Regions from separate parts of the Homo sapiens genome. Here region 2 is linked to region 1. The links are contacts of gene promoters, found by promoter capture Hi-C in blood cells and fetal thymus (Javierre and others, 2016). All regions are on one chromosome and are shown on one strand. Each heading gives the region's core, a stretch centred on a gene start or on the middle of the fragment in contact. The rest is flanking DNA. Distances are from core to core; before and after follow the strand shown. Region 1 holds the start of LINC02694 (long intergenic non-protein coding RNA 2694). Region 2 has its middle 54 kb from the start of LINC02694.

Region 1 (3,251 bases), core at 459-2,958:
TCTCTCCTCAGTTGAGGATGTTCTGCAACGTGGGACTTTATTTTTGCTATTGATTTTGTGTACTCGAAATTATTAGCCTAAGTCCCCAGTAAAGAGATTGGGTCTATGACCTGGGCTAGTCTCAATGAAAAGGAAGAGGGAATTCACCCGTTTCCCAAAACTTGGGTGGTTGAGATGATGTAGGCAGTTTTGAGGTAGAGCAGAATTGGGGGGCGGGTGCGGGGAGTCAAGGATTCTTCCATTCCAGGTTGGGAATCTGCAATCCCTTTGATGTAATAGCATGCCAGATGTTTGAACTATGAAATTGTTTCTGGGGTTCAGACTGTAGAACCCACTGAGGCAGAAATGTGGGAACTTGGTAGGAAAACATAAAGATGACAGCATGTTGGATACTTCAAGAAGGTACAAGGTCCTTTCCACGGAAGTTTTGCTAAAAGTGGATCAGGAACAAGAGGTGAATTATGTAACTTTGCTTCAGAAGCCACATCTACCTGTAATCAGCCATCAGAGGCTGAGGAAGGTCAGATTATCTTGTGTCTTCCTTATCATCGCCATCACTATCAGCAGCAGCAGCAGCAGCAGCAGCAGCAGCAGCAGAGTTCTCTGTCACACTCTATTACTAAAGCTAAAGATTGCATGTGATTATAGATATTTATTATTCTGGTCATTGTCATGGTGATCTTTGCGGAAAGATATTAGAGGAAAACTCCCTCCTAGTCATATCTGGAGGCCAATGTCCTTAAACAGAAAACTGGGGTCATACCCTGTAAAACCTATCAGACCAAGTAATCCAGAGCTGGGATGGGGGCAGGATCTCTTTAGAGTAAGACTTGCCTTCCAAGCCACATAACTGTCATCTGGAGCTTGTCACTGCTGACAATTTTCCTCCTTGCTGCCAGCTTGCTCTGTATCACGCAGGGCTATCATCAGTAACTTAGCCCTAAGAGGGGTACAGGAAAGATTAAAAAAAGGAATGCTATATTTGTGGGGGAATCATTCTCTAAAAGTCTCCCTTGCCAGCAAATTTTAAGTGGTAGGAGCAGTGGTTGTCACCACAGCTGGCACTTTGGGTTTTGTGGTGTGAAGCAAAGGCTTTTTAACTGAGAGAGGACTGGTGCCCATTCCTGGTGGCAGCTCCTGCCACTGGAAGCCTGGTTGGCCAGAATGTGATGCTGTGATGGGGACTGCATCTGGATCCCAGCTGTCAGGACCTGGCTTCCAGATCTGAATTCTAGAGCAGAGGGAGGGAAGGCAGAACACCTACCAGCACACTAATGTTTCAAGTTTGGCCTAGAGCAAAGAGCCTGAGTTGCTGTTGGCCAAACGTTGGCCTGTGTTTGTCAGACTGGGCTGAAGACTTCCTCCCTGGTCTATCCTTCACCTCTTATGCCACAGTTTTGGGAAACACTGTGCTCAGCAAGCTGAACTGCTTCTTGGGTGTGCGACTAGGGTGCCAGCCAGGCCAGGGACGTCCAGGACTGGAAGAAATGCAGGGGCAGGACCACAGCACAGGCTGATCAGGAGGCTGCCCCACCAGGAGCTCTGCTGAAGGCTGCATCCTCTCTGCTGAGAGTCAACCACTGTGCTGACTCACCATCCTTGTGGTTGAGAACCCATCAGCAAATTGGTGGCTCTGATGAGCCCTGGAGCTGCAAAATATAGGCCGGGGTACCTCAGCCGGAAGGGACTTCAGTTAGTGACAGGTTTTCTGTTCTGATATGGAGCTACAAGGGGCCCAAGAGGACCTGGGCATTTCCCTCTCTAGTCCCCGGAGGAACCATGAAACCAGGCCAGGAAGCAAGGCTAAGGGCAGGAGCAGCATCTGTCTCCAGGCGTCTGTTTGGATGGCTGTAAGTCCCACCTTGCTCTGTTTTTTTCTGCTATGGCTGAACCTGGATCTAGCAGGGTTCTCAGTTTCTGCTATGGCTGAACCTGGATCTCAGTCCCCTGGTGAGCTTAGCTCCTGCCTCCCAGAGAACTGGAATGACCTTATTCAGACACCTCCAGCCTGTATAAGTCAGGGGCAAGGACTGGGGAGTCAAGAGGGTTAAGGGAGTGAGAGGTGAGAGTTACAATCTACATTGTATTTTATGTCAACAGCATCCCCTGGAGTACTGCAAAGCTCTAAGTCAGATATCCCAGTGGGGGGCATCACCCATCCTAGACTTTCTCCCCTGCCCCATGCCCCTTATACCAACATCAATTCAGCACATAGCACTGTACTTGGCCATTAAGATAGTAAATAAATGCCTGGTGAATAGTTTGATAGACAGAAAGATGCCCACTCCCCCAACCCAAAGATGTTTACATTCTCATTCCTAGAAACTGTAAATATGTTATCTTAATAGCAAACAGGATTTTGCAAGTGTGGTTAACATTAAGGATCTTGAGATAAAGAGATTATCCTGGATTATCCGAATGGGCCTAATCTAATCCTAAAAAGCAGACAGGCTTCCCTGGGTGCAGTCAGAGACAGAAATGCAGCTAGGGGAATTGGAGTCAAAGAGAGGGCCATGAGAGAAGGATTCCATGCCCTGTGGCTGGTTCTGAGAGGTAGGGACTCTATGTAAGGACAGAGCAAATGTCTTCTAGGAGTTCAGGGTGGCCCCAGTTAGCAACCAGCAAGGACCTCAGTCTTACAGTCCCACGGAACTGTCAAGACCAGAATGAGCAAAGATAGTGATGCACCCCCAGAGCTGCCACCAAGGAACGCTGTCCTGCCGAGACGTTGATTTTAGTCCTATGAGACCCATAGGACTTCTGGCCCATAGAACTAAATGATAGTGTGTGTTTTAAGCTGCTAAAGTTTTGGTAATTTATTATAGTAGCAACCGATAATAGAAATGGCTATAAAATGGAATGTATTTTGTAACTGAACATAATTTTCTTGCCTCTGGTGTCCCTAATTTCCTTGGTGGCTGGCAGTCATAGAGAAGTCCTTTTCCATGGTTAGCTGTGTGCCAGTGACGGGGAGGGCATCCTTACTCTGGTCTCAAGTGCTTCTTGGCACCCCTGGGTTTACTTTTTTGCTGATGTCCCCTGGCATAGGTGTTGCTAGAAGCTGGCGTTTTTAGGAAGCACGTAGAACTCTCTGCTCCTTCATAGTCAGTCAGTGGCTCCATCCCAGGCAGGTGCTCCAGACCCATCCCATTCATTAGTCATCTATTCTGTACAAGAAACTTGATGAATTTTATTTCATTTAATTCTAACAACTATATGAATTAGGTAATGTTATCCCCATTTTACAGGGA
Region 2 (3,251 bases), core at 520-3,019, 54 kb before region 1:
ACTTTCTTAGCGTTTTTCAAGAAGACAATGTATTATTTACTATAGTTACCATGTTGTATAATAGATTTCATAAACTTTTTCTTCCTAACTGAAATTTCACAGCCTTTGACCAACAATCTCCCCAACCCACCCCAATCACCTCAGTCTCTTGTAACCACCGTTCTACTCTCTACTTCTATGAGATCAACTTTTTTAGATTTCACATGTGAGTAAGATCATGCAGTATTTATCTTTCTGTGCCTGACTTATTTCACTTGACATAATGTCTTCCAGTTTCATCGTGTTGTTGCAAATGATAGGATTTCCTTCTCCTTTATGACTGAATAGTATTCCGTTGTGTGTATATATACTACAAGGGTATCCAATCTTTTGGCTTCCACAAGCCACATTGGAAGAGTAAGAATTGTCTTGGGCCACACATAAAATACACTAACACTAACAATAGCTCATAAGCTAAAACACAAATTGCAAAAAAAAAATCATAATGTTTTAAGAAAGTTTACGAATTTGTGTTGGGCTGCATTCAAAACCATCCTTGGCTGCATGCAGCCCATGGGCCACAGGTTAGACAAGCTTATACCTCATTCAAAACATCTCTTCATCCACTGATGGACACCTAGGTTGATTCCATATCTTGGCTCTTGGGCATAATGCTGCAACAAGCATGGGAGTGAGGATATCTCTTTGACACGCTGATTTTATTTCCTTGGGATATAAACCGAGTAGTGGGATTGCTGGCTGGATCATATGGTAGTTCTATTTTTAATTTTTTGAGAAACCTTTATACTGTTTTCCATAATAGTAGTGTTAATTTACATTCCTATCAACAGTTTGTGAGGTTTCTCTTTACTCCACATCCTTGCAAATTAACTTTTGCCTTTTTGGTGATAACCATTCTAACAGTTGTTAGCCTCACCTAAATATTCTTAATTATATCAGTTATCAGCTGTCACAATAATAATGCATAACAAACAGCCACAAAACCTCAGTGGCATACAGTGATGCTTTTGTCAGTGGTTAGGGTACCCACCAGGGCTACTGTGAGACAGACTTGAGCCAAAATCCCATTCATTGCTTGACTTCCATAAAATCCTGCTGATTGATGGATCACAGTGGTGCTTTAGATCTACAGTAATTAGTGGATGTCCAGTATTCACTGAAAAGCCTGATCATTTTTCCTTCTCCAATGCACAATTTCCTGGATAAAGGCCATAAGTCCCTTTGGGGAGAGCTAAGAGGAAGATTTAGTATCTGTATTTTTTGTCTGGGTAGCATGGTCCTTACTCAAGGGGACTCAGTCTCTTCTTTATTCAAGGAGTTCTGGGTCTGTGAACTGGCTCAAGGTTGGGAATTGGTTGTTACTTAGATTTCTGTTGTTGAAAACTGGTAAAATAATTCAGTTCATTTGTTGTTTATTGTACCTCCTCTTAAGTCACACTTTGTATCTTGACCACATGAGTCTTCTTCACACAGAAACCCACTGAGATTTAGGTCTAGTAAAGGAGCAGTGAATGGTGGTGGGATTAGGGCTGGAGGAAGATCAAGCAAGGCAAAATATCTCAGGAGTTCCAGCAAGGCAATATATCTCAGGAGAGGTAATGATAGGCTCTTCAGATAAGAGGAGACTAATCTCCTTAGGGGAAGAAGGGCTGCCTCTATTGGCAAAGGAGAGTTAAGAGAGTTAAGGGGTTTGAATCTACCAGCTTCATTAGGATTTACCCATATATTCACATCCCAATACTCAGGATTGCATTCTCTATCAATTAAAAAGTATTGGTTATTTTTGTTGTTGTTTTTTTTTTTTTTTGAGACGGAGTCTCGCTCTGTCACCCAGGCTGGGTTGCAGTGGCGCGATCTCAGCTCACTGCAAGCTCCACCTCCCAGGTTCATGCCATTCTCCTGCCTCAGCCTCCCGAGTAGCTGTGACTACAGGTGCCTGCTACCACGCCCGGCTATTTTTTTTATATTTTTAGTAGAGACAGGGTTTCACCATGTTAGCCAGGATGGTCTCGATCTCCTGACCTTGTGATCCACCCGCCTGGGCCTCCCAAAGTACTGGGATTACAGGCGTGAGCCACTGTGCCCTGCCTAAAAAATACTTTTAGAGATAATGTCTCAGTGTGTTATCCAGGCTGGAGTGCAGTAGTAAAATAGCTCACTGCAGCCTCAAACTCTTGGGCTCAAACAATTGTCCCACGTCAGCCTCCTGAGCAGCTGGGACTACAGTCATGCTTCACTACATCTGAATAATTTTTTAAACTTTTTTTGTAGAGATGCGGTCTTGCTGTGTTGTCTGGGCTGTTCTGGAACTTCTGGCCTCAAGCAATTCTCCTGCCTCAGCCTCCTGAAGTGCTAAATTACAGGTGTGAACCACTACACTCAGCCTCTTTACCAGTTAATATCCTAACTTTAACATAGGAGACTCTATGAGGAAGGGAAGTCAATTTGCATTGTAAGTCAGCCACCTGCTGTTCTAGACTTTGGGTGTGGCTTTTGAAAATCTTAGCCCTAAGGCAGAAGAAGATAAAAGTTTCTTTTAGGGTAGTCATATATTTGAGGCCCCTTATGTAGATCTTGAGCTGGGAATTTAGTCCTGAGCTGTTTTTTTGTTTTCTACACATTTTCAAGCACATTTAGAAGCAAACAACAAAACCACTCTTAGTACCAATTTTTGTATTAGTCAGGGTTCAATCAGAGAAGGAGAAACAACTATGAGTGATTTTGTTATTATATAATAAGAAATTTCTTATAGAAATTTGACCTTATGGAATTGTGGGCGTTGTTAGTTTATGTGCATGTTTTGCACGTGCATAACACAAGCTATTGTGCATATGTGCATGTACCCCAAATACACAGAATATCTTTAGTTCTGGCAAAAGGGTAGACTAAGATAACCTGAAACTCTCCCGCTACAAATTGTGAGAGAAGCCAAATAAGGTGTGTAAAAATTTTTTTGAAATATTTGCTAAGCTTGCCAGAAAAAAAGGAAATCCCTAGATCCCAGAAAAGAAGATGGAGTTGAAAACCAGATTAGTAAACTTGTGATCTGACACGTGGCTGCCCTTGGAGTGAAGATTATGGGTTCCTGCAACCTGGGGCTTAGCTTTAAGGATGACAATATGTTAAATAAGGAGCTAGAACTTGCATGATATAGGGAATAAATCTGAGGTTTCTGCAAAAGCCAAGACATTTGAGAGGCTGAGGCTGTACCCTCAATGATAGGGTGAAAAAACAAGCAAACAAAAAAACGC

What was found. Contacts are between HindIII fragments. The CHiCAGO score rates a contact against its expected background, and 5 or more counts as called.
Region 2: a fragment that was not itself captured here is called in contact with the fragment with the promoter of LINC02694 in region 1 in 3 of 17 cell types (naive CD4 T cells, non-activated CD4 T cells and activated CD4 T cells); the score reaches 6.2 in naive CD4 T cells.

Annotation. Positions count from the first base shown.
Region 1 is chr15:38,694,890-38,698,140 of GRCh38, forward strand. LINC02694 (long intergenic non-protein coding RNA 2694) reads left to right here and starts at 1,709. Exons shown (of 2, transcript NR_160786.1): 1 at 1,709-1,850; 2 at 3,249-3,251. RefSeq lists an enhancer at 1,819-1,868. The HindIII fragment of the contact is 8,690 bases long and covers 1-3,251 here.
Region 2 is chr15:38,640,644-38,643,894 of GRCh38, forward strand. No RefSeq gene overlaps it. Among named protein-coding and RNA genes, the nearest start is that of LINC02694, 54 kb to the right of the region's middle. The HindIII fragment of the contact is 2,397 bases long and covers 572-2,968 here.